Regions from separate parts of the Homo sapiens genome. Here regions 2, 3, 4 and 5 are each linked to region 1. Evidence: promoter capture Hi-C in human tissues and cell types (Jung and others, 2019). All regions are on one chromosome and are shown on one strand. Each heading gives the region's core, a stretch centred on a gene start or on the middle of the fragment in contact. The rest is flanking DNA. Distances are from core to core; before and after follow the strand shown.

Region 1 (5,079 bases), core at 1,231-3,730:
CCGGATTGTTAAGAGCTATACAGGAAAATCAAGCAGGGTGAACGGAATAGAGAACATGGATTTAATTTGAAATAGGTGGCCAGAGAAGCTCTCATTAATAAAGTAACATATATGAGTAAAAACCAGAAGAAGTGAGCCATGGGGGTATCTGGGGGAAAACTGTTTCAGTTAGAGGAATCAGCAGGAGAAAAGGCTAAAAGCGGGGAGTGTATGCAACATTCAAGGAAAACTGAAAAAGCCAGAGTAGTTAGCACAGAGCAAGGCAGCAGAGAGTGGCGAGAGAGAAGGACAGGGACATATTGGGGCCCACTATGGGCTGAGAAGTTCTCAGATGGGTAAGGGTGGAGGGAACGGGGGCTAAGCATTGACGGTGTTGGTGGGGAGAAGTGGTGGTCCCCCTTTGGGAATAATTTTAAGGTAGAAATGATAGTATTTGCTGTGCAGTATGAGAAAGAGGGAAACCAGGGGTGACTTCAAGGTTTGGGGCCAGAAGAATTCAAAGAATGGACCTGCCTAACTAACTACAATGGGTGAAAGACCATGGGATGGGCAGGTGTAGTGGGGGAGATAAGGATTTTGTTTTGGAAACGCTCTAGACTTACCTATGACACATCCAAATGGAGATGTCGAAATGTGATGCTGGACATGAGTCCTGAGTTCAAGAAGCTATGTGGGCTCAGGATGTAAATACATAAAATATGTCATACTGATTCCCACTTACCCAGTCCCTCTGTAACTAGATCTCATGAGTTGGAATGCTGCAACCCTCCATGGGCTCCTTTATCTTAAAAAAAGAGATGTAGCAGCCGGGTGCGGTGGCTCACGCCTGTAATCCCAGCACTTTGGGAGGCCGAGGCGGGCAGATCACGAGGTCAGGAGATGGAGACCATCCTGGCCAACATGGTGAAACCCCGTCTGTACTAAAAACACAAAAATTAGCTGGGTGTGGTGGTGCGCGCCTGTAATCCCAGCTACTCGGGAGGCTGAGGCAGGAGAATCACCTGAACCCGGGAGGCGGAGATTGCAGTGAGCCGAGATGGCGCCACTGCACTCCAGCCTGGCTACAGAGCTAGACTCCGTCCCAAAAAATAAAATAGAATAAAATGGCCAAGAATCAGGGAGAGAACCTGTGCTGCTGCCTGTACAGATGCCCAGCGCCCGCCCAACACCACACAGAATCAGAATCTGCAGGGACTGAGCACCCGTGGTCTGGCATCTGAAGCCAGGCCATCTTGGTTCACATCCCTGCTCCTTCCCAGCTGTGTGACACGCCTTGGATAAGCGACTTAACCACGTTGACTCAGTCTCCTCATCAAGTGAATGGGGCTAACAGTATCTATACCTCCTACCAGGGAAAACAGTATGTCAAGACTTTGCACCACACCTGGTAACTACCCTAAATGCTCCACAAGACCAAGCACTTCCTATCATCATTCATTCATTACTGCAATTCGGTAGGGAAAACCCTCCAGTCACAGGGAGCACCGAATGGGGGAATCAGAGCCAGACAGGTAGAGAGCTTGCCTGCATTTGTGCAACTAGAAAAGGGGGGGAGCTAAAAATAGGCCTCAGAAGTCTTGAAGCTACAGCGATGGCAACACGACTATGGATGGAAGCAGACATCAGCCTTATGGTGCCTTCTCGGGGGATCTGGAAGTGTAACCTTGTCAAAAACACTCAGGTGGGCTGTCAGCGCTCCACAGAGGAGGGACTCGCACGGTCTCTTGTCTGGAAGTGCAGCAAAAAGGGCCAAAGAGCAGCCAGGGTTTTCGGCGGCCCAGATCCTGCGGCGGGGCCTAAATGAGGGGGAGACGAAGCGCCCCGAAGGATCCGGGGGGAACTGGCGGGAAGTGGGGGCCGAAGTTCGGGGCGGGGACGGGGTGAAAACGGCCTGGGCTTCCTCCGTCCGCGGTGTGCGGCTGGCCCGCGGAGGACGAGGGCCTCACGGGCTTAGGAGATAGGCAGCCAGGCCGGGGAAGGGGAGATGCCGGGTGGCGGAGGACGAGGGGGCGGGGAGGGAGCGTGGCGCGCTCCGGGCCACAACCAGGCCCTAAGGTCTATTTACATCCGTGGCCGAAGCACTGGGGCCGCGCCTCCCGCCCCCTTCAGCCCCGAGCTTGGCTGCGACGCAGAGGGGCCTTAGGGCTGCGATCCCGATGGCCACCCGGCTCCTCTAGCCAGACGGCTGCAGTGGCTGGGGTTGCCGGGAGTGATGGGCCGGGCCGGTGAGCCCGGCCTGAGGGGACGCAATAGGGGGCGGCTGCAAGGCCCGCCACGGCGCTAGCCTGGAGCGGACGAAACCCTTGCACTCTGCGGTGCTCCCCCCAAGGGCTTGTGGCCCCTAGTCCTCCCGCCGCCCGTTCCCCGGCCGCCAGCCGGTCCCCAACGGCGCCTCCCCTACCTTCGTTCGCCAGGTCCGCCATTTTACTTCCTTAAGCCCTCCCACAAGGCCCCGCGCCGGCCCAGGCTCGCCTGCTTTCTGCCAGAAACTCCCGCGCGTGCGCACTTAACAAGCCGACTCCGTGTGAGGCGGCCAGCTCGCGCCTGCGCGCTGAATGCCGCGCGGAGGCGAGCCCCGGATCGCCTGCCCTGCAGAGCAGCCTGCCCTGACGAGCCGCGCTCCTAGCACGCACCTGCGCACGAGCCATCTCCCGCCTCCTTTTCCCGCCGACTGAGAGGGCGGGGAAAGGGCCGGGAAGGGCGCATGCGCAGTGGCAGCGACTAAGGTTTAGTGAGGCGGCACCGCGCGGCCCGAGGCGGGTCTTGAAGCACTCGTTTTCCCACTCGTTTTCCGGGGTTCCCCCGCGGTGGGACAGTGAGCAGTTCAGGGCGCCGCAGCCGAGGCCTTCCTCCAGGTAAATCGCCGGGCCTGCGGGGGCTTCCCACACGCGCGGGCGGGAGACGCGTTGCCTCCTACCTCAGTTTACCCGCCTTAGGAGCCGGTACCTTCGGCAAACGCTTTCCTGAAACCACGGGGGAAGTGGCGAGAGGGCGCGGGGTGCTTGGGATTGGGGGGTAAATCAGAGCTCATCGGCGGGGGCGGGGGTCGTGGTCAGGCTCTAGGAGGGGGCGCAGCCCTGGGACCCAGGTGCTGGCGTTGGGGGCGGGGGGAGCCGGCGCGAGGGACTCGACCCCTCGGAGCTACGAGAATCAACTTCACAAGCTCATGGGAGGGGAACCGCGCGCCTCCAGGTTACCCATCTGTAAAATGGGACCATCAGCCTCACTCACAAGGCTCATGGGAGGGTCCTGGACACCCTGGAGTTGTTCTCTACTCACCTGCTATGAATCTCTCAGCAAATCCTTCGGACTTGGCCTTGCCTCCAAAATACAGCCCAGAGCCACCCATTGTCACCCCCAGGCTGTCACCACCCTAGGCCACATCGTCCGTATCTATCTCATGGAAGACTTGGACAGCGGCCTCTCTGCTATCCTTTGCTGCATTCTTTTGAAGCCCCAGGCTTGGTTCTGCACATGGCCGCAGGCTGAGGAGTCTTTGAAAAATATAATCAGCCAGACGCGGTAGCTCACCCCTGGAATCCCAGCACTGCGGGAGGCCAAGGTGGGAGGATCGCTTGAGCTCAGTTCAAAACCAGCCTAGGCAACAGAGCAAGACCCCATCTCTACAAAAACACAAAAATTACCCGGATGTGGTGGTGCAAGCCTGTGGTCCCAGCTACTTGGGAGGCTGAGGCAGGAGGATCACTTGAGCCCAGGAGGTTGAGGCTGCAGTGAGCTGTGACAGTGCCACTGCCACCATCCTAGGGACACAGCAAGAACCTCCCCCATATATATACACATATATACTTTGTTTTTATCTATATATATACACACAGATATATACATACACGTGTGCATATATATGTGTGTGTGTGTATATATATATATATACACATAGACTGAAAATGGAAATATCAAGGCCACTCAGTGCTTCCAGAGGGCTCTCAGCTGAACTTGGAATATCCTAAACCTTGTATTCAGGTTTATGAAGTCCCCTGAACTTGGCTCCCATGCCCTGCTTTGTTCCCCCTTGCTCATTGCTGTTCAGCCGCGTGGGTCTTTCCATCCTTGGAGCACAAGCTCATTCCAACCTAAGGGTCTTTGCACTTGGTCGTCTCTCTGCCTGGGACCTTGTGTTTCAGGTCTTACCTAGGTTGGAGTCCCAGCTCTGCACCTTTTTGAGTATGATCTAAAAGAGAGCGAGGAGTACTACAATCTGTGGGCCAGATATAGTCTATGAGCTAAAAATGGTTCCTCCCTCCCTCCCCTTGTTCCCTCCCTCCCTTTCCTTCCCTTCCCTTTCTTTTATTTATTTTGGAATCTAACTCTGTTGCCCACGCTGGAGTGCAGTGGTACAATTTCGACTCACTACAACCTCCGCCTCCCGGGTTGAAGTGATTCTCCTGCCTCAGCCTTCTGAGTAGCTGGCATTACAGCTGTGTACTACTATACCCAGCTAGTTTTTGTGTTTTTTTGTGGAGACAGGGTTTCACCATGTTGGCCAGGCTGCTCTCGAACTTCTGACCTCAGGTGCTCTGCCCACCTTGGCTTCCCAAAGTGCTGGGATTACAGGCATGAGCCACCGCGCCTGCCGATTTTTTTACATTTTTAGCTGGTTGGGAAAAAAAATACCAAAAGAAGAATATCTATTGATGTGAAAATGGTGTGAAATTTACATTTCAGTGTCTGTAAATAAAGTTTTATTTGAAAACAGCCAATGCTTACTCATTTATATATTGTCTCTGGCTACTTTTGAGCTGTGACATTAGAGCTAATTTTTTTTTTTAACAGAAACTTTTTGGCCAACAAAACTTAAAGCATTTACTGTTTGTGTCTTTACAGAAAAAGTTTGCCAGTTCCTAATCCAGGACACATGTATTTACATGGTTGTTAAACTTTTCTGAACAGCCAGTGGGATGTGGTAAATATTTAACAGCAGCTTCTCTGGAAGAGAATGTATTCGTTAGTATGTATTTATGTGTGTGTATATAGTTTATTGTAAATTTTACTTATTTTTCTATCACTTTCTTAAGACCACAAGACAATTAATAAAACAAATTGAACCCTGTTTTGTAGCGT
Region 2 (5,079 bases), core at 2,009-4,508, 450 kb after region 1:
TAAAGAGCTGCCACCTCCTCAGTGCTTCCAGCTCCTGACTCCTGAAAACCTCAACCCTCTGAAGCCACATATCTGCCACCAGACCCCCTGGACTTACAGTCTCCCTGGGAAGCCAGCTTCTTGCTCTCCGGTTGATCTGGGAAAGAGAGAGGATGGCAGATGCAGCACCCACCCACCCACGGCCGCCTCGAACCTGATGCTGGTGCCACATGTCCAAGGTAAACAGTGCCCCTCGGCCCCCACCCTTAACAGGAGCTGAGACAGGAGCCCAGGAGAGACTGGCCCCTGAGGGAGGCCAGACCCCGCCAATTCCGCCACCAACGCTCAGAGTAAAAAAGCCTTCAGAACACGCAACCACCACCAGGCACCTGAGTCCTCCCGGTTTAGGACAGGACCTGCCTCTAGCAGGGAGGGTGTCGTGGATAACAGTGGAGTTGGTCAGGGTTGATCATCCGCTACTTGGGGTCACACTACGCACCCCAGAGCTGGGCCAACTTCACATCAAGCCTCAGTAACTGCTCCAGGTTGCCTCAGCCTCCCAGAAAGGGAGGAATCATCTTGGGAACTTACAACTTCGACCCAGTCACAATCAATCTGCCCTCCTCTCTGCCACCTGATACCTCAGGATGGCAGACGGAACAAGAAGAATTAACAAGGCCGGGATTGCTGAGGTTTTAAAAGACCAAACAACAGTGACACCCACCCCCTCTGAACCACACTCAAACAAAAGCACCTCTTTAGGCCCCCAGCCCTTCCTCCTAAGCTAAAGGCAGCAGCAGGGAGTTACCTCCATCTTCCAACTGTCTCTTTTGGCCCCCAAAACCAAAATCAGGAGTGCTGTTATTCACTGTCGTGGCAGCATCGCCTCCAATTTTGGCTGCAATCTAGAATAAAGTAGTAAGCACAGAAGAATTACCACCAAAAACAACCCTCCATGGCACCCAGGTCAACTTCTCAGAACATCTCCTGGACACGAAAGCCCATCAGGTCTTGGTGTCTGGCCCTCCAACTTAGGGAAGAGTCAGTTGGTTAAGACATCCTAGGAGTTTTGAACCTAGGCCTCAAGGTTCTCACCAGTTAACTGGGAATATCAAAATTCCCCTCTTCCCTTCTCCTGGGATTTGTGTCTTAATTGTGGCCAGCCCATAATCCACACTGACTTCGTTCTAGGGGTGACAAGGAACAGAGGCTCAGGTGTCAGGGAGGGTTCCCAGGTCATCTCCAAGAGCTTTCAGACACTTCCTCCTGCCAGTGGCCCCAGCTCAGAAAACCAGAAAGTGTGTTTTTTTTTAGCCCCGTTTTCCTGGGATGCTGAAGAGTTCAATTTTCCCCTATCTCCCCCACTCTCAAAATCCTTTTATCAATTTATTGAATAAATTTGAGCAAAGCGATCACTTCAAGGGATATGAAATCCTCATTTGACCAAAACAGAAGACTCTCTGGATGGCTGGGCACTGTGACTTATGCCTGTAATCCCAGCATTTTGGGAGGCCGAGGCGGGCAGATCACTTGAACTCAGGAGTTCGAGACAGACTGGCTGACATGGTCAAACTCCATCTCTACTAAAAATACAAAAATTAGCTGGGTGTGGTGGTGCACACTTATAATCCCAGCTACTCGGGAGGCTGAGGCAGGAGGAGCACTTCAACTGGAGAGGTGGAGGCTGTGGTGTGCTGAGATCGTGCCACTGCACCCCTGCCTGGGTGATATTGAGACTGTTTCCAAAAAACAAACAAACAAACAAAAAACCAAGACTCTATGGGACACAAGTTACATCTCAGACACGTGAAGAGCAACTTTAAAGAAACCTCAACCCAGCAAACTTAGGATCAGAGTCTGGGGTTTAGAAACCCAAACCATGTTAAGAATCTCCCTTTCCACCAGTCTCCATTTTTCTACGCTGCCCTAGAGCCAAAACTCATGGGATGCCCACAGGGGGCCTGTCCCCACCAACTGACAGCACCAGCTTCCTCCCTTCAAGCTGTCCCAGAATCAGACGGTTCCATGGGCAATAAGACCAAATGCACGCTAGAACCCACCCAACTCCAAGGGTGAGAGAGACGACAGAGGGCCAGAACACAGGCGTTCACTTAACGGGACCTCCCACCTTGGGAGGAGCCAGTCTCTAGCCCCGGAGGCATTGGGACAGCCCAGGAGCCGGTCGGCGGCAAAGTCCTCCCATTCTACCGACCCCCACCCCTCCAGGCCATGGGGAGGCTGCAAATGGAGCTGGAGAGGTCAGTCCTAGCAGCATGTGACACTTCCTTGTCATTACGCCTCAATACACGGGGGTGGGAGACCCTCCCTTCTTTCCCCCAAAGAGACAGACCACGCTTTCAAGCCACCAAAGCATCCAAGAGCCAGTCCCCATGCTCGTCTTCCCCATTTCGCCCAAGTGCTCAGCCCTAGACAGGTCCCCATCCACTTTCCCGACTGAAGAGGAAGGACTGTCCCTCCCACCCCCACAATGTCCCTTTCTCCTAGAGAGGGGACAGAAATGGGACTGGGTTGGGGGCAAACACTGCCCTTTGCCCTGATATGGAGGGGAGAGTAAAGGCCCTCCGCCCGGGAAGGTGGACCCCTGCCTCCAGGCATGTCCTAAGGCCGGGGGGCTAAGGGGGGGGTCCCAAAAGTGCGTCTCCGAGCTCCGGGGCGCCTGCACACCCAGGCGCCGCTCCTGGTGACCCCCAGTGCGCCCCTACTCCCTGCAGGGGGGTCACCCGTTGGGATCCCACTCGAGGCGCAGCGGGAGGGCCAGGCCCCCGCCTACCGCCCACGTGACCCCGCGACGGCCCCGGCCCCCCTCCGCGACCCTGCGCGCGCGCGCGCACGTGACCCCCGCCCCCTCCCCCGCCTGCGCGCGCGCGCGAGCGCGCCCCTCAGGCCCTCGGCCTCCTCACCTGGCGGGCCCGCTGCACGGCGTCGGCGAAAGCGTCCTTGCGGATTCCCGGGCCGCCTCCGCCGGGTGGCTGAGAGGGGCCCCCGGCCGACCCCCCGCCCGGGCCGCCGCCGCCGGGACCGCCGCCGCCCCGGTCCCCCGCGCCTGGCGGGCCCGGCGGAGGGCCTCCCCCGGCGCCTCCGGCTCCCCCGCCCCCGCCGGCGGGCGGCGGCGGCCCGGGCGGGGGTCCTCCCGTGCTGTAGTCCGACATGGCGCGGCGGGGCCGGGCCTGGCGCGGAGGCTGAAGCTGAGGAGGCGGCGGCGGCGGCGGCGGCTCAACGCGGGAACAAGGCCTCGCTCCACACGGCCGCGGAGCACTCTGGGAACCCAGCCGCTGGGAGGACGACGAGGGGGGAGAGAGTCGCCCCTCCCGCCGCCGACGTGACGGACGACTCCGGCGGGCCAATGGGAGGCAGCCGCCGCACCCCGGACACCAATCGCGAGCTCTGTAGGAGGTGGCCAATCGGAGTGCAATGAGGGGCAGTGGGCGGGAGGCTCAGAGTGACTGACAGCTCTCAGAGGCAATAGCTGCGAGCTGCCCGTGCTGGGCGGGCAAATGAAGGAGATCTGAGAAGGCAGGAGGCCCAATGAAACGCGAGTGCCAGATTCGCGGGGCGGCTTCAGAATTAGATTGACGGTTCTGAAGAGTCACGTGGACTGTAAGGCCGGGCCTAGTGGAAGACTCCTATGGACCGGCTGGGTGGGCGTTAGGTTTGATAGTCGTGGACACAAGCCAATGAATGCACGTGAGAGGTGGTGCTTGTAAAGATGGGCAGCCAATTAATCCAATTCCTGACGAGTTCTGGGTGATGAGGTTGGCTTTGGACTTTAATTGCTTCCCTTGTTAACCAGAATCCTTTTCTATCCCTGACTTCTAAGCCAATGGCTGAGCGACATGGGTGGGTGTTCGGTGACTGACACTGGTCTGGACAAATGGGAATGAAGGAAATCAAAGCGCCCACTTTTGGTGGGAGCCAGTGGAAGCGCCGCTGCATTGGGGCGGAGTCGGCCACCAGACAGCGAGGGGATTAGCGGGAACTGTAGTGAATGGCAGCCGACGTGGGCGGTGGCAATCGGCTGCCCGAACTCAGGCCTGATGTCTGGGTTAGCTCACCGGCAGCCTGGTTGGGTAGGCCCGGCACGTGGCCCGCTTGAAGCCTTAGAGATCGAGCGCTTCCGGAGGTGGGGAGGCCGGAAAGCAGGAAACTCGGGATCCCCCGGGCCTTCTTCTCTCTCGACCCCCCATCTAGAGCGTCCAGTTCTCTTGCAGGACTCAAGGAACCAGCCCCACTCACGAGTCCAGAACCGTTCCAACAACCGGGATCGAGGGATCACAGCCTCGATCACACCCCTCACTTCACACCCCTCACTCCCTTCGCCTAAGGCCCTGGGATCCAAGCCTCAAGCTCCTATCCTAGGTCCTCACTTCCTCTCCTGGACACAAATTCCCATTCAGGACCCAGAGGCCCAAGGTCCCCAGCTCCCCTACTGGGTCCAGGGATCTCATGCACCCAGTTCCACTCCTAGGCCCAAGTATCCAGACACGTTCAGCAAAAACCATCTCTTTATTCCTTGTTGTGTGACATGTTCACCATTTCGCCCTGGAGCCAGGACGACCCACAAGGGGCCAGACTGGAGTCCACGTTTCTTGTCTCAGGCTGCACCCTGGGGAGGGAGTCCCAGGAGTTTTCTGACCCAGCACTGCCCCCCTCCACCCACCACCAACCCCAGCTTCAGGAATCTTCTGACCCAGAGCCCCACCCCCACCCCCAGCCTGCTTTTGCCACCAAAAACTGCCCCAGGGCCTGAACCTTGAGGCCTCGAGGGCTCTTTGGGGCCAGGGGTCATCAGGTCCTCCTGTCCCATTTCTGCCTAGGCTGTGTCGTCCAGCTCACAGCCTATATGCCCAGGGTTTTCTTCATGGCTTCGTACACCACATAGCTGATGCCACCTGCTGGTAAGACCTTCAGTAGCGTGGGGGTCATGCCTCGGTACAGCCCTAGCCAGCCCTGCTGGGCCAGGATCCGCTGGAGGACTCCGCGCATGGTGGGATTTGAGCCCTCCACGGTATCTGCAGGGACACAGGCAAGATCAGGACTAGGCCAGAGATGACCGGGCCTCCTAGGAGTCTGGAATGTTGC
Region 3 (5,079 bases), core at 1,513-4,012, 310 kb after region 1:
TGCTGGGATTACAGGCGTGAGCCACCGTGCCTGGCCAAAAAATAAAATTTTTTTTAATCCTATCACTGGATGTAAGTAGATCAGTTGCTCTAAGTAGTCCCCAAAGCAGCAGTGTGAGCATCACTTGGGTATGTTGCTATAAATGCACATTCTGGTCTTCCCCCACCCTTGTTTATGGAACCAGAAATTCTAAGTGTTTGGACAGCAGTGGCTTAACCAACCCTACAGATGGTTCCAAGGCTCACCTAACTTTCAGAATCACTGTCCCAGGTAAAGGGACAAAATGGGAGTCAGGGGTAGCCATCTATCTTTTTTTTTTTTTTCTTTTTTTTTTTTTTGAGACAGAGTTTTGCTCTGTTGTCCAGGCTGGAGTCCAGTGGCAGTCTCAATTCACTGCAACCTCCACCTCCCAGGCTCAAGTGTTCCTCCTGCCTCAGTCTCCCAAGTAGCCAAGAATAAAGGCTCATACCACCATGCTCAGCTAATTTTTGTATTTTCTTTTTTTTGTGGAGACAGAGTCTTGTTATGTTTCTGAGTCTGGTCTTGAATTCCTGGGCTCAAGTGATCCACCTGCCTCAGCCTCCCAAAGTGCTGAGATTACAGGCATGAGTTACCATGCCTGGCCAGCATCTGTCTTTGAAGAAAGCTTGCAGGAAAGAACCTTTAGTCTACACTTGCTACAAATATGAGCTTCTGGAACTCAATCCCCTCCCCCTTATTCAGTTGGGAAATTACTGTTCACTTAGGTTCTAAATTGTTGGGAATTTTCAAAACTGCATCCCCTGGGCTCCCACTGGCTGAGGTGGAATACTTTGAACATCGAAAAGAATAATGGGGAAGGGCCGGGTGTGGTGGCTCACGCCTGTAATCCCAGCCCTTTGGGAGGCTGAAGAGGGCGGATCACGAGGTTAGGAGATTGAGACCATCCGGGCTAACACAGTGAAACCCCGTCTCTACTAAAAATACAAAACAAACAAACAAACAAACAAAAAAAAAACAATTAGCCGGGTGTGGTGGCGGGCGCCTGTAGTCCCAGCTACTCAGGAGGCTGAGGCCGGGGAATGGCATGAACCCGGGAGGCAGAGCTTGCAGTGAGCCAAGATTGCACCACTGCACTTCAGCCTGGGCGACAGAGTGAGACTCTGTCTCAAAAAAAAAAGAAAAAAAAAGAATAATGAGGAAGGAACTGAATGTCTACTGACACATGAGCGGATAAACTAAACATGGTTTATCCATGCAATAGAAGCTTATTCAACCTTAGAAAGGAAGAAAATAGGGTGTAGTGGTGTGCACCTGTAGTCCCAGCTACTTAGAAGGCTGAGACAGGAGGATTGCTTGAGCGCAGGAGTTTGAGGCTGCAGTGGGCTATGATTGCACTGATGGCAGTGGCTGGCCATCTGGACTGGCCACCACCATCTTACTAGCTGCAGCACAGAGGAATGGCCAGGACTGCATGTTCCATAGATCTGGCAGAAGCTGGTGACAAGTGGGAGCCCCGCCCCTTCTGCATTGGGGTGGGAGCTCCCTGGGTGGTGCTGCAGCCACTAAAGCCATGGCTACAGACCTGGGCATTACTGGGCTCTCAGGCCCAGAGGCAGGCAGGAGCCCCACCCTCCCAGGTGCAGCTGCAGCTGTCCAAACTGCAGCTGCAGATTAGGAGTCCCTGCACTCCTAGGGGCCCGGGAAGGTTCCCCCTGCCCTTGCAGGCTCAGAAATGTCTGCTTCCACTGCTTGGCTTCTCCCTGCTGTTGGTGCCCACTCCATCTCAAAGCAAAGTTGGGGCTGAGCCCCAGAGCTGTTGCAGCCAGGCAGGGTGTGCACAAACTTGGGGCAGCACAGACACACCAGCCCCCTGCTACCTCAGCCCCATCTGGACTTCGGGCACCAACGAGCATAGGAGGGAAGCCAAAGGGGGGGCTGAGGGCAGCTCAGTGCTGACCTGCATGCGCCCCTTGGCACCTATAGCCTGGGCACCATCAACAGCAGCAGGAGGTAGACAGGTTCCTGGATGGAAGGGGATGGGTCCCTGGTGAGGCCCCACCTTCAGGCCAGGGAGGGCCTGAAGGCTAGGGGCTGGGCTACCAGCCCCATGGACTGGAGTGGAAACATGTGATGCCTTTTCCAGGCCTGCTCATGGACCAATCAGCATGCATTTTTTCCCCTCTGAGGCCCATAAAAGCCCTGGGCTCAGCCAAAGCTGGGCAGATATCGGGATGACCAGCTTCAGAGAGCAGCTACCAACTCCAGGGCCTCCTCTCTGCTGAGAGCTGCAGAGACGTCGGGACTACCAGCTGCAGAGAGGAGCAACTCACTCTAAGGCCTCTTCTTTGCTAAGAGCTGGGATGAACATGGGATGACCTGCCTGCAGAGAGAAGCAACTCACCCCAGGGCCTCCTTCTGCTGAGAGCTGCAGGGAATGATGGCACAACCTGCTTGCAGAGAGGAGCTACCCACTCCAGGGCCTCCCCTCTGCTGAAAGCTGGGCAAGCAATGGGACAACCTGCCCGCAGAGAGAAGCTACCCACTCCAGGGCCTCCTCTTCACTGAGAGCCACAGAAAATGACAGGATGGACTGCCTGCAGAGAGGAGCTACCCAATCCAAGGCCTCCTCTGAGCTACTCTGTCGCTCAATAAAGCTCCTGTTCACCTTGCTCACCCTCCACTTGTCCACATACCTCATTCTTCTTGGGCACAGGACAAGAATTCAGGAACTGCTAAACAGCAGGGCTGAAAGAGCTATAAAACCCACAGGGCTGAAACATGCGCCTTGCCATGTTGTGGGTGAAGAGAAGGAGAGAAGAGCTGTGGCCCTTCAGGGACCTAGGAGCTCCCTGAGCCAGGGCTGTGACTCCCTCTTTGGACCCCAGTGTTTCCTATAGTCTCCAAGCTTCTGAGTGCCACTGCATTCCCTGGTGGCAGCTGTGGAAGCTGCTTATGGTGCACCTGGTCTGGCCGCAGCCTCTCAGAGAGCCAGGGCCCCTGCCAGCACCTGGAGCTGTCTGCTCTGCTGCAGCAGCTGGTGTGCCTGGCTGCATGCAGTGGCCGGACCTCATGCTTGCTTGCTTGCTCACACACCCCTCGCCCCTCCATGCCTGGCTTGCCCTTGGCAAGTGTGAGATCCAGGCTAGTAGTGTGAGCTGAGCACAGCCTGCCAGGCCGTGTGGGTGGAATGAGCCCAGTGGGCCCGAGCAAAACTCAGGCAAAGGTGCCACCAGCCACAGAGGTTTCCAACCAGAAATCAACACCCCAAGGATCCTGCAACATTTTTGAGGGCTCGTCCAGGATCTGCAGAAGGGTGAGTGAAAGGGTGAGTAAAAGCAGATCTGCTCTTTCTGTCCCTTTTTAGGAGTCCCTAAACTCAACAATAGCTAAAATGAAAGAAAAACACCAGGCCTCTATTAGCCAGTTAAAATTAACTAGCAGAGATGCTGGACTTAAAACATGGATGATAGCCTTGCTGGGGAGGACACTGTCAATCCCTCATCATCCTCAAGTGTTGAGAATGTTGGGTTTGTTTCAATCCCGTTTCCTTCCATGAGGTCTACCTGTTACATGGGACCAGAAGGAGGTCCTGGGGCAACTGAGGGTATCTGGCTGAGGCTATGCCTCAGTGTTATCCAAAGGCCCCTGGACTAACTCCTGAAACTCAAGTCCCTAAGCGCCCATTAGGGTGTTGTTGGCACTAGGACCTCCAGTCTCCTATCTTTCTTTCTTTCATGGTTGTCAAGGTTCTTATCTCTTCTTTTTTTTTTTTTTTTTTGAGATGGAGTCTTGCTCTGTCGCCCAGGCTGGAGTGCAGTGGCATGGCATGATCTTGACTCCTGACCTTAGGTGATCCACCCACCTTGACCTCCCAAAGTGTTGAGATTACAGGCATGAGCCACTGCACCCAGCTCCTATCTCTTCTTTATATACAACATTAAATTTCTGTGCGCACGCGTGTGTGTGTGTGTGTGTGTGTGTGTGTGTTTGAGACAGAGCCTTGCTCTGTCGCCCAGGCTGGAGTGCAGTGGTGTGATCTTATCTCACTGCAACATCTGCCTCCAAAGTAGTTGGGATTTCAGGCATGCACCACCATGCCTGGCTAATTTTTGTATTTTAATAGAGATGGGGTTTCACCATGTTGGGCAGGCTTGTCTTGAACACCTGACCTCAGGTCATCCACCTGCCTCGCCCTCCCAAAGGGCTGGGATTACAGGTATGAGCCACCGCATCCAGCCTACAATGTTAAATGTTAAGAATGTTGCTGCAAAACAGAGAAATTACTGGATAGAATGAGCATTTGGCTTAGTCATCAAAAGTATAAAATGGAAGGTTAAGAGTAGCACAGATGAGCAAAGTGTGCCTTGGTATCTGTACATAATTTTGTGGGAAAAATGTTATTGTCATTTCCTTGGTTGCCATCTTGGTGCAAGGCACCTTGAGGCACAGAACAGAAGCATGGCCTCAGGAAGGAAGCTTTTCTGTAAACACAAGGGCAAATAAATGGTCCAAGGTCCCATACATGCAGGCCTTCTTTGCCTTGCAGGGTAATCTGGACCTTTGCCAACATTGTAGGATTGATTCAGCTGTCCTAATGGCCTTCTCAGGAGAAGCTGCAAGGGGTAATCCCAGAGAAATAGGGAAGCATACCCCAGAGGTACCTCCAGCAGGGGAATCAATCCCCTCAACTCCTCCCTATCCAGGTTCTCTCTCAAGCTTGCCCCGGCATAGTAATCCTTGTTTAAGGCAGGTCCCAGTCTCAACTGCCCAAAAACAGATGCCTGGTGAATATGGTCCCATTGAAGTTCAGTTTTCCTTTTCTCTATAGAACTTAAGGCAAATTTAAGGGGAGATCTTGGCAAGTTTTCAGATGGCCCTCACAGGTATATAGAGAGTTTCCAGAACTTAACCCAAGTATTTGAGCTCTCCTGGAAAGATGTCATGTTACTCTTGTTTTTGTTTTTGTTTGAGATGGGGTCTCACTCTGTCATCCAGGCTGGAGTGCAGTGGCACTCTCTTGGCTCACTGCAACCTCCACCTCCCAGGTTCAAGTGATTCTCCTGCCGCAGCCTCCCAAGTAGCTGGGACTACAGGCAT
Region 4 (5,079 bases), core at 1,459-3,958, 300 kb before region 1:
CAAGCCCTGACAAGCCATCAGGAGCCAGAAGCCCAGGCCTCGGTGCTCTGGGCACCACCAGGCCAACCCTGTGCTCCCTGGGGCCAGCACACGGGTCAGGGAACACTTCTGAAGTCCTTTATTGGGCCGGCAAGGCCGGGAGCTGCCCTCGGAGTGGGGTCCCAGTCCGGAGTCTTCAGGTCAGTGGCAGCCCTGCCCGTTCTGGCCGGGGCAGGCGGCCCCTGCTGACTCGCTACTTGGTGCGCGCCTTCACATACTCCCAGCCCTCCTTGGAGTACTCGCGGGCCTTGGAGGGGGCCACCGACAGAGCTGACATCACCGTCATGATGCCTGTGGGAAAGGGACGGCCACTGGTGATACTCCCCTCCCAGCCTCACCCAGCCTCCAACCCCTGGGAAACTCTAGAGTTTGTTTTGGGCGGTGGGGGGTGGGTGGGGGGCGGGGATGGAGTCTCACTCTGTCTCCCAGGCTGGAGTGCAGTAGTGCAATCTCGGCTCACTGCAACCTTCGCCTCCTGGGTTCAAGCGATTCTCTTGCCTCAGCCTCCCAAGTAGCTGGGACTACAAGTGCGCCACCATACCAGGCTAATTTTTGTATTTTATTTTTTTGAGATGGAGTCTCGCCCTGTCGCCCAGGCTGGAGTGCAGTGGTGCAACCTCGGCTCACTGCAACCTCTGCCTCCTGGGTTCAAGCAATTCTCCTGCTTCAGCCTCTCAAGCAGCAGCTGGGATTACAGGTGTGCACCACCACGCACGGTTAATTTTTGTATTTTTAGTAGAGATGGGGTTTCACCATGTTGCCCAGGCTGGTCTCGAACTCCTGACTTCAGATGATCCGCCCACCTCAGCCTCCCAAAGTGCTGGGATTACAGGCGTGAGCCACTGTGCTCGGCCTCCTTTCCCTTTTAGATCCCTAAGAGACACGTGTCGGGCAGGAAGGAGGATGGACAGAAAGGAATGGCCAGGAAGTGGGGAGAGGGGCTAGACTGGGGTGTCTCCCTCCAAGCAAAGAAACTGGGTGCCTTACCTGCATTCCAGGAGTCACGGATGGGAAAGTAAATCTTTGGAGGGGCTGGGAGCTGGGAAAAAGAGATGGGCAGAAAGAACTGGTGAAAAGGCTCAGCAGCCCATCCCCAGAGGCGGAGGGAGGAGGACAGGCCGGAGAATCAGGTCAGCATCAATATGGAGGACAACATCGTGCAGGGCTGGAGGGACCTCCCAGAGCTGACCACCCGCCAAACCCTGGCCTCGTTCCCGGCCCGTAGTACCTGGGGTATCTGCAGGCCTGTCTGCTGACACACGTACTGGCTGAACTGGTACATGGCGGGGGGGACCACCTCCCCAGCCTTCTGTAGGGCTGCCTGGCTCTTGTCGCTGGGCCCCAGCAGCTCCTGGTCGTACACCAGGTAGACGGCGCCCCCAGCCACACTTCCCTTGATGAGGAACCTGCGGGCAGGGACGGGAGGAGCAGAAGCTCAGCGGACACTGACAGCCACCCTCAGGGGCCAAGGCCCACGGGGAGAGTGAGACCCTCCTGAGGGCTCACCGTCCACAGGGTGACACTCTGTAGTGCAGCACCGTCGACCCAGACCCCTATTATATACAGCACTCGTTTTACAACGTGCAAGGCAGGGCGGCTGGACGCCACTTGAACTGATGAACTGAAACCCAGAGGGGGAGAGTGGGTCACTCAAAGTCCCACAGTGAGCAGGGGCAGTGAAGACGTAAGATCTTGACCTTCTAGAAGCCTTCCAGCCCTGGAGAAACCAAGTGTCCCTGGGCGCCTCCTGCCCGCTGTCACTCGCAGCTCCGAGCACGCATTCACTTCTCATCCACGCCAGCGGCAGGATTCACCGGCATTCCCACCTCACAGAGAAGACAACTGAGGCTCGGAGGCGGAGGCTGACACCGCGAACTGAACGCCAAGGGCTCGCTGGGAAGCAGGAGGGAGGGGATTGGCGACCTCGGGAAGCCCCGCCCCTCTGAAGCCTCAGTTTCCCTATCTGGCCCATAGGCGGGGAACGAAGGGGAAGTGACTCTAAGGGAAGCGAAGAGCAGATCGGGACCAGACTGGAGACAGGGATGCCCACAAAAATGGACTTTTTCGGGGACTCGGGTCCCCTCCGGCGCCCCCACGCACCTCATCAGCGACCACACCCGGGCCACCATGGTCGCTCGGATCCACGCGCAAGGACACTCGGCTCGCCCGCCGCTTCCTGTCGCGGCGCCGCAGAGGCCTCTGGAAGGTGTAGTCTTTCTTGCCCGACGCAAGGTCCTCTGGGAGTCGTGGTGTCTTGCGGCTCTGAGACTCCAGAGAAGGGCTGCGGTCTCGCAGCGGAGGGCCGCTGGGAAATGGACGCTTTAAGGCCCGGGCCGCCGCAAGGCTGTCTGGGAAATGTAGTCAGCACGGCGCTGTTTGCACCTGGCCGCGGAGCCTCCTGGGAAATGTAGTTCGGCCCGGCCCTGGCACCGTGAGGGGAAAGAGGCGTCAGGTGCCTGGCTGAAGCCTGAAGGTGACCCGAAAACAAGTCAGAGCCCGAGAGATCCACCCGCGCCCGCGCGGGGGACCAAGGGCCCGGATTTAAGAAGAGTGTGCCTACAAGGCGGTTGTCACGGCAACGAGAGGGCGGGATTGTTCGAGCGCTGCGGCCCCCTCACGTGATCGATTCGGAGGCGGGGCGTCCGCCCAGTGGGCGGGGCCGGGCCCCTGCTGGGAGGCGAAGACCAGGCGGGCACTGTTGCCCGGCGACGCTCCGGCGCTGGGTCCCCGAGGCCCGGCCCCTCCCCGGGAGGAGGTGGGCTTCGAGTCACGTGACCCGTGCCCTACGGGAGGGGGTGCGGTCGGGGACCCGGCAGGAGGCGGCCGAGAAGAGAGGACCGTGGGGGCGTTCGCGTGGCTCCCAGCCCGGGACCCCACCCCCGCTGGACAGTGGGGGAAACTGAGGCCTGAGCGGGTGAGTGCACGGTTTAGGGGTGCGCAGAGGGTCACACGCCCGCTTTGTTCAGAGGGGAAGCTAAGGCCCGCCGAGGTCAAGAAGGGGCCGATGCGTTCTGCAGGGCTTCCCCCCATTTCTCCCGCATTTCGGCCGGGCTGCTTCAACCGTTCATCTGCCCATCCATCCATCTGTCCCCCACCCGTCTATCCATCTGGCCATCCACCCATCTATCCTTCCATCTATCCATCCACACTTCCGTTCATCCATCTGTCCGCCCATCCATTCATCCATCTGCTCCCCCCATCCTTCCACTCATCCATCTGTCCACCCATCCATCTATTTATCTGGCCACCCACTCATCTATCCGTCCATCCATCCATCCATCCATCCATCCATCCATGCATCCGTCCGTCCATCCATCCATCCATCCATCCATCCATTTATGTGTTCCCATTTATCCATTCATACATCCATCCACTCATCCATCTATCCACCCATACATCTCTCCGTCCATCATCCATCCATCCACCCATCCATCTATTCATCTGGCCATCCACCCATCCATCCTTCTATCTATGCATCCATACATGCATCTGTCCATCTATCCATTCATCCATCCACCCATCCGTCCACCCGTCAGTCCATCTGGTCCCACTTCCCCCTGCCGGGCTGCTGCAGTCAGTGTAGAGCTGGGGGTGGAAAGAGGGATGAGCAGAGGAGCTTCATGGGCTGTCCCTGGAAGGGGAAAAGGTGGAAGCTCGTTTCTTGCTGTGGGCATGCCTGGTGTGTCTGGGAAAGGTGAGGAGTTCATTATTTTGAGAACTGAACGATTCATAGATGGGGCCGTGGGAGAGAAGGATAGACAGGTAGTCAGGGGCTATACCTGCAGGGCCTCATGGGGTGCAGTGAGGAGCCTGGTTTCCATCAGTTGCAGTGGGGACCCCTGAGAGGGTTTGGAGCAGGAAGGGCCATGGCCATGTTGCTTTTGACACAGACGCCTTTGGCTGCATTGACAGAAGAGGCAGGGAGAGAATGAGTATGGACATGGGGAAGCCAGTGTGGAGGTGGGGGAGACCAAATCGGAGATGGAAGGGAGGCCAAAGGAAAGATGGGGGTGGTCAGGCCCGGGGTAGGGTCTAGGAGGGAGGTGACAATCTGGGAGTCCTGGAGAGAGAGAGGAAGGGACAGCTGGGGAGAGACTGGAGAGGGAGAACTGATAAGATCTGAAAACCATGAGCTCGTGGGGGTGAAAGGATAGAAGGAGGTGAGGACAATACCTGGGTCTCCCATTTAGGGACAGGGGATAGTGGGGCTATTTCTGTGATGGTGAGCTGGGAAGAGAAGCAGGTATGGGGTGACATGCTGAGCCTGGATTGGGTCCTGCTGGTTCTAAGGGGCCTGGAGGTTGTCAGGAGGAGACACCCAGAAGACAGCAGAGGCAAAGAACCTAGGGCTGGACCTACAGATGGGAGATTTAGGGACTCCTCAATGATCCGCTCCATCTGGTCTGTCTCAGCTTCCTGGTTCTGGAAGTCCCCTTCCCCTTGTCCCATTGACTTTTTTTTTTTTTTTTTTTTTTTTTTAGACAGAGTCTCACTCTGTTGCCCAGGCTGGAATGCAGTGGGGCGATCTCAGCTCACTGCAATCTCCACCCCGCTGGGTTCAAGCAATTCTCCTGCCTCAGCAGGAGACCCCATCTCTACAAAAAATACGATGATTAGTTGGGCGTGCTGGTGCACCCACTTGTAGTCCTAGCTGCTCCATTGGCTGGGATCACAGGCATGTGCCAGCATGCCCAGCTAATTTAGTATTTTTAGTAGAGACTGGGTTTCTCCATGTTGGTCAGGCTGGTCTCGAACTCCCAGCCTCAAGTGATCCGCCCACCTCGGCCTCCCAAAATGCTGGGATTACAAAGTGTAATCCCAGCCTGTGCAACAAGAGTGAAACTCAGTCTCAAAAAAAAAAAAAAAAAAAAAGAACCTGGACTGTTTCTCTCTTTCACCTTCTCCCTGGAATTAGTGAATCAGCTCCCATAGCTGAAATCATAAATCATATCTTCATCTGGATGACGCAGGCACCTCTGTCTCCAACCCAGCCCCATGTGTCAAATGCCTTCTGGGTGTCTCCAGAGAGCGAGCTGTCTC
Region 5 (5,079 bases), core at 1,131-3,630, 260 kb before region 1:
GTGCAGTGGTGACACCATGGCTCACTGCAGCCTTGATCTCCCAGTTTCAAGTGATCCTCCTGCCTCAGCCTTCCAAGTAGCTGGGAAGACAGGTGCATGCCACTGTGCCCGGCTTTTCTTTCTTTCTTTTTTTTTTTTTTTTTGTAGAGACAGGGTCTATGTTGACCATACTGGTTTCAAATTATGCTCCTGCCTCAGCCTCCCAAAGTGCTGGGATTAAACATGTGAGACACCGTGCCCAGCCCACATGGCCTCATTTAAATCCCACAACAACTCTAATAAGACACTAATATGTCCAGGTCACAGATGAGAAGAGGGAAGCCAAAGGAATAACTTGCTGAAGGTTATGGAGCTAGGATAGGACCCCACAAGGTCTTGCTCTGGGGGCCTGCATCAGTAACCAGTACTCAACATCAAGGAAAGGCCTTGGGGCCGGGCGCAGTGACTCGCACCTGCAATCCCAGCACTTTGGGAGGCTGAGGCGGGTGAATCACTTGAGGTCAGGAGTTCGAGACGAGCGTGGGCAACATGGTGAAACCCTGTCTCTTCTAAAAATAGAAAAATTAGCCAGCCACGGTGGCGGGCGCCTGTAATCCCAGCTACTCAGGGGGCTGAGGCAGGAGAATCACTTGAACCCGGGAGGCAGAGGTTGCAGTGAGCTGAAATCGCGCCACTGCACTTTAGCCTAGATGACAGAGTGCAACTTGGTCTCAAAAAAAAAAAAAAAAAAATCTTGGAGCAGCGTTGGAGAAGCTCCCTCTGTCCCCTCTCTACTGGCTGCTGCCCCTCTGAAATGGCCTTTCCCTTCCCAACAGATCCTTGAGATTTGTTTAGAAGAGTCTGGAGAGTGAGCGCAGAGGCTGACTCACTGCGTGACCTTGCTCTGCCAGTTAGGAGATAACCTTCCCATAGATGCCACTTTCCACATCAGTAGTTTTTTTTTTTAAGGGAAGGGGAGCTGGGGGAGAAGGCTTTTGGGGCCTTCCTACTGTAAAAGCTCAAGTTCCTTACACTCACTGCTTTCTCTCTATTACATCATCCTGCTCCCTCCCCACCCCCAAGGCTCTTAGTCTGAAATGATCTAATTTCTACCACCGGAATGACTTGTTCTCTACAGTATTCTCAGAACTTGCTACGTGGTAGGAGGTCAAGAACACACTGAATAACCCACCTCTTCCCACCCTCCTAAGCCTCCTGTCCCATCCATGCTCTACTATTTCTCGTAATTATTGCCTTCTAATACAATATCGTTACTAAACATCTTTATTGCCTGTCTCATCCTGCCAAAATGTAAGCTCCAAGGCAGATTTATTTTTTAAGAGACAGGGTCTCGCCATGTTGACCAGGCTGGACTCCAGGTTTCCAACAATCCTTCCACCTCAGCCGCCAGAGTAGCTGGGAGTACAGCGCGCGCCACCATGCCCAGCTTCAAAGGCAGAAATTTTTGTCTGTTTTGTTCACTGCCATATCCCCAGAACCTAGAACACTCTCTGGCAAATAATAAGCAATCAAGAAGTATTTGTCTAAGAAAGGAATGAATTCTGATCCCAGTGAGGCTCGTAACCAGACGGCAGAGCGCCTGGGGCGAGGAGGTATTACAAAACTCGTGCCAAGTAAGGAGAAAACTAACAGCGCCGTAACACTACTCAGGTCCCTCCCGGCCCCGGATTTCTATGACCGGCGTTCTAAAGTGGATAATCCTAGGCTCATCGGGTTCAACTCCTCTCATCTAACGGATCCTAAGAAATCCGAAAGGGAGAGGACTTTGGCTCAAGGTTCCCAAGCTAGTGGTGAGCAGACAAGGATTCGAACTGCACCCTTCGAGAAACTTCATGTCTGAAAAAGTTGCGAAACACAAGGGCGCTCAAGTGATCCCACGGTTCAGCCCGCTGCTTGCACAGGTGGGAAACCTGAGGCCGAGGCGGGGACTCCCATTACCTCGATAATCTTGATAAAGCGCGGGAACACCGGGTTGCGGGTGATGGCGATGAGCGGCAGGTGCGGAAACACATCGGGGATCGTCATGGGCGTGAGCGCCGTTATGACCGGGCCTTCCCCGGCGCCCGCGCTGCCCCCCGCGCCGCCGGCTCCTTCCTCCGCGCCGCCCTCGGAGGCGTCCTCGCCCCCCGAGAATGCGCCTCCGCCGCGGCTGCTCGCTTCCCAAAACCCCCGCCATTGGCCCCCAATTGCCGGGCCTCGGCCCCACAGTGCCCAAGGAGGAGAGGCGTCGCAGGTCCGCTGGCCTCGGAGCAACCACGCTCCTGCTGCAGTGGGAACCCGCCCCCCGGCGGCGGCCAGCATCGGCCGCCGCAGCACCCAGCACCGCGCCGCTCCCCACAGTCGCACGTAGCCAGTGCTCGCCGCCATAGCCCGGCCATACTGGCGGCTCACACAACTCGCGTCATTTCCGCTCGCCGCGAAACGCACGTGACGCCCGGCGCGTGCCTCGGTACCCGATGGGCGCGTGGCTCGAAACAGCCGCTTCAGGGAGCTGGGCCTACGCGGAGAAGAGGGGGCGGAGTTCGAGCATCGGATCGTCTCCGCCTCTTCCGGTCTCCCACTTTATGCGCTGAAGGCCTTTTCCGGTCACGTGGAAGGCTGTGAGCAGGCGCCAGCGCCCGTACAAAACACTGGTAGTGTTGCAAACGCAACGTTTAGGAACTCATGAGCAGCCTGTGCACATGCTTAGGCGCGCGGACAACATGCGCATGCTCAGACTCTAGACTGGCCACGGGTGGCCGGGTGCGCATACTCAGGCTCTGAGCGCACTTTGGGGTGCGCGGATTCGGGCTTCCCGGGATTCGTCTGCGCATGCTCAAGATTCAGGCGGAGCGCCGGGCTGCAGTGCGCGGAGGCCCGCTCCCGGGACTCATTGATGCGCATGCGCAGGGCTTCAGCCTGCACGTACTCGGATTGTGCAGCGACTCCCCGTGGCGGTTGAGGGGCAGTGGTGGCGGCGGAAGCCCAAGTCGATGCTGATGTTGATGCTGGTGGCGGCTGTGACCATGTGGCTCCGACCGCTGGTCACAGCTCAGCTCTGTCGGTGGGGCTGCCAGGACTCCTGGGGCTGGGGTGCTGCCGGGGGTCGGGAGGGTGCTGGTTCATCTTGGAGCCGAGGCCTGCTCCCCAACCTCACTGAGGCTCCCCTTTTACTCTTTTTAGGAATCGAACTTGACGCCTCGCTCACCCTACTCCACCCCATCCTCCCAGCCCGATATTAAGCTCTCCTACCTCTTTTTTTTTTTTTTTTTGAGACGGAGTCTCGCTCTGTCGCCCAGGCTGCAGTGCAGTGGCGCGATCTCGGCTCACTGCAAGCTCCGCCTCCCGGATTCACGCCATTCTCCTGCCTCAGCCTCCTGAGTAGCTGGGACTACAGGCGCCTGCCACCACGCCCGGCTAATTTTTTTTTGTATTTTTAGTAAAGACGGGGGTTTCACCGTATTAGCCAGGATGGTCCCGATCTCCTGACCTCGTGACCCGCCTGCCTCGGCCTCCCAAAGTGCTGGGATTACAGGCGTGAGCCACCACGCCGGGCCTAGCCCTCCCACTTCTTTTTCTTTTTGGAGCCGGAGTTTTTGCTCTGTTTCCCAGGGTGGAGTGCAGTGGCGCGATCTCTGCTCACTGCAACCCCCGCCTCCCAAAGTGCTGGGATTGCAGGCGTGAGCCACCGCGCCCAGCCTTACCCAGCACATTTTGAAATTTCAGTAAATGTTAGGTTAGTGCATACTCCAACCTGCCATGGGGACCAGTTGCTGAAACTCCGTTCCTGCCCTCAGGGAACTCCCATCTGGACTAAACTGTCACATTCAGTAGGGACCTGTGAGCTGTATTCTTAGGGTGTATGGCCTCATTTGATGTTTACAGGAAGATTCATAATGATTCCTTAACCTTATTTTATTTTATTTATTATTATTTTTTGTACAGATGGGGTCTCACTGGCTGGGTGCAGTGGCTCACGCCTGTAATCCCAACACTTTGAGAGGTAGAGGTGGGCAGATCACTCACTTGAGGTCAAGAGTTCCAGACCAGCCTGGCCAACATGATGAAACCTCGTCTCTACTAAAAATACAAAAATTAGCCAGGCTTGGTGGCAGGTGCCTGTAATCCCAGCTACTTGGGAGGCTGAGGCAGAAAAATCGCTTGAATTCAGGAGGTGGAGGTTGCAGTGAGCTGAGATCGCACTCCAGCCTGGGTGACAAAGGGAGACTCTGTCTCAAAGGAAAAAAAAAAAAAAAGAGATGGGGTCTCACTGTTTTGCCCAGGCTGGTCTTGAACTCCTAGGCTCCAGTGATCCTCCTGCCTCAGCCTCCCAAAGTGTTGGGATTACAGGCATGAGCCACCCATGCCCAGCCATACCCTTATTTTATTTTTTTGAGATGGAGTCTTGTTCTCGTCGCCCAGGCTGGAGTACAATGTCACGGTCTCGGCTCACTGCAACCTCCGCCTCCCAAGTTCAAGCAATTCTCCTGCCTCAGCCTCCAGAGTAGTTGGGATTATGGGCGCCTGCCACCACGTGCAGCTAATTTTTTGTGTTTTTAGTAGAGACAGGGTTCCACCATGTTGCCCAGGTTGGTCTCGAACTCCTGACCTCGTGATTCACTTGCCTCGGCCTCCCAACGTGCTGGGCTTACAGGCGTGTGCCACCGCGCCCGGCCAACACCCTTATTTTATAGATACGAAAGCATACTTAGGAAAGTTAAAGACACACTTGCCTAACAACACATACCTAGTAAGTGGGAGAAACATTTTCCAGTGAAATTTACTAATAGGATTTGTCTCGAGTTCTGAAAATGTGGGTTATATCCAGTTCTCTCATTTCCCCACACAGGCTCTCAAAGAATGGTCCCTGGACCAGCAGCATCAAGATCACCTGGAATTTATTATAATTGGTTAGAAATGCAGTTCCCTGGACCTACTGAGTCGGGGACTTGGCAGTGGGACCCAGCAAACGGTGGTTTATCAAGACCCCCCCCCCCGCAACCCCGGTGATTCTGATGCATATTCAAGATTGAGCACCTCTGCTGTAAACTATACCATCCTTCCAGTCACCACACACTCCCTTAAGGAGCCCCGAATACC

Evidence for each region. The method cuts DNA at HindIII sites, captures the fragments that hold promoters and counts their contacts. A contact is called where the count stands out against the background at its distance.
Region 2: a contact is called between the fragment with the promoter of KHSRP here and the fragment with the promoter of RANBP3 in region 1, in 2 of the 25 tissues and cell types used here (dorsolateral prefrontal cortex and stomach).
Region 3: a fragment that was not itself captured here is called in contact with the fragment with the promoter of RANBP3 in region 1 in 1 of the 25 tissues and cell types used here (lymphoblastoid cells).
Region 4: a contact is called between the fragment with the promoter of HSD11B1L here and the fragment with the promoter of RANBP3 in region 1, in 1 of the 25 tissues and cell types used here (dorsolateral prefrontal cortex).
Region 5: the fragment with the promoter of LONP1 here is called in contact with the fragment with the promoter of RANBP3 in region 1 in 1 of the 25 tissues and cell types used here (adrenal gland).

The regions. Positions count from the first base shown.
Region 1 is chr19:5,975,660-5,980,738 of GRCh38, forward strand. RANBP3 (RAN binding protein 3) reads right to left here and starts at 2,481. Exons shown (of 17, transcript NM_007322.3): 1 at 2,402-2,481. The coding sequence starts at 2,423. RANBP3-DT (RANBP3 divergent transcript) reads left to right here and starts at 2,744. Exons shown (of 4, transcript NR_046376.1): 1 at 2,744-2,855. RefSeq lists silencers at 2,265-2,374, 2,605-2,774, 2,825-2,874. The HindIII fragment of the contact is 11,015 bases long and covers 1-5,079 here.
Region 2 is chr19:6,421,553-6,426,631 of GRCh38, forward strand. KHSRP (KH-type splicing regulatory protein) reads right to left here and starts at 3,259. Exons shown (of 19, transcript NM_001366299.1): 1 at 2,901-3,259; 2 at 788-884; 3 at 98-136. The coding sequence starts at 3,149. SLC25A41 (solute carrier family 25 member 41) reads right to left here. Exons shown (of 7, transcript NM_173637.4): 7 at 4,485-5,009. The coding sequence ends at 4,837. RefSeq lists an enhancer at 3,567-3,686. The HindIII fragment of the contact is 26,210 bases long and covers 1-5,079 here.
Region 3 is chr19:6,284,428-6,289,506 of GRCh38, forward strand. No RefSeq gene overlaps it. Among named protein-coding and RNA genes, the nearest start is that of MLLT1, 7.0 kb to the left of the region's middle. The HindIII fragment of the contact is 3,632 bases long and covers 947-4,578 here.
Region 4 is chr19:5,678,319-5,683,397 of GRCh38, forward strand. HSD11B1L (hydroxysteroid 11-beta dehydrogenase 1 like) reads left to right here and starts at 2,709. Exons shown (of 8, transcript NM_198706.3): 1 at 2,709-2,953. MICOS13 (mitochondrial contact site and cristae organizing system subunit 13) reads right to left here and starts at 2,198. Exons shown (of 4, transcript NM_205767.3): 1 at 2,140-2,198; 2 at 1,268-1,445; 3 at 1,027-1,078; 4 at 104-330. The coding sequence starts at 2,168. The coding sequence ends at 233. LOC107985320 (a long non-coding RNA gene) reads left to right here. Exons shown (of 3, transcript XR_007067107.1): 3 at 1-11. RefSeq lists enhancers at 1,287-1,426, 1,807-1,916, 1,947-2,026, 2,047-2,146, 2,157-2,626 and a silencer at 2,677-2,886. The HindIII fragment of the contact is 40,206 bases long and covers 1-5,079 here.
Region 5 is chr19:5,717,766-5,722,844 of GRCh38, forward strand. It overlaps LONP1 (lon peptidase 1, mitochondrial), which reads right to left and starts at 2,381. Exons shown (of 18, transcript NM_004793.4): 1 at 1,939-2,381. The coding sequence starts at 2,367. It overlaps CATSPERD (catsper channel auxiliary subunit delta), which reads left to right and starts at 2,872. Exons shown (of 22, transcript NM_152784.4): 1 at 2,872-3,043. The coding sequence starts at 2,973. RefSeq lists enhancers at 1-512, 513-1,028, 2,062-2,578, 2,531-2,630 and silencers at 1,991-2,070, 2,201-2,250. The HindIII fragment of the contact is 49,943 bases long and covers 1-5,079 here.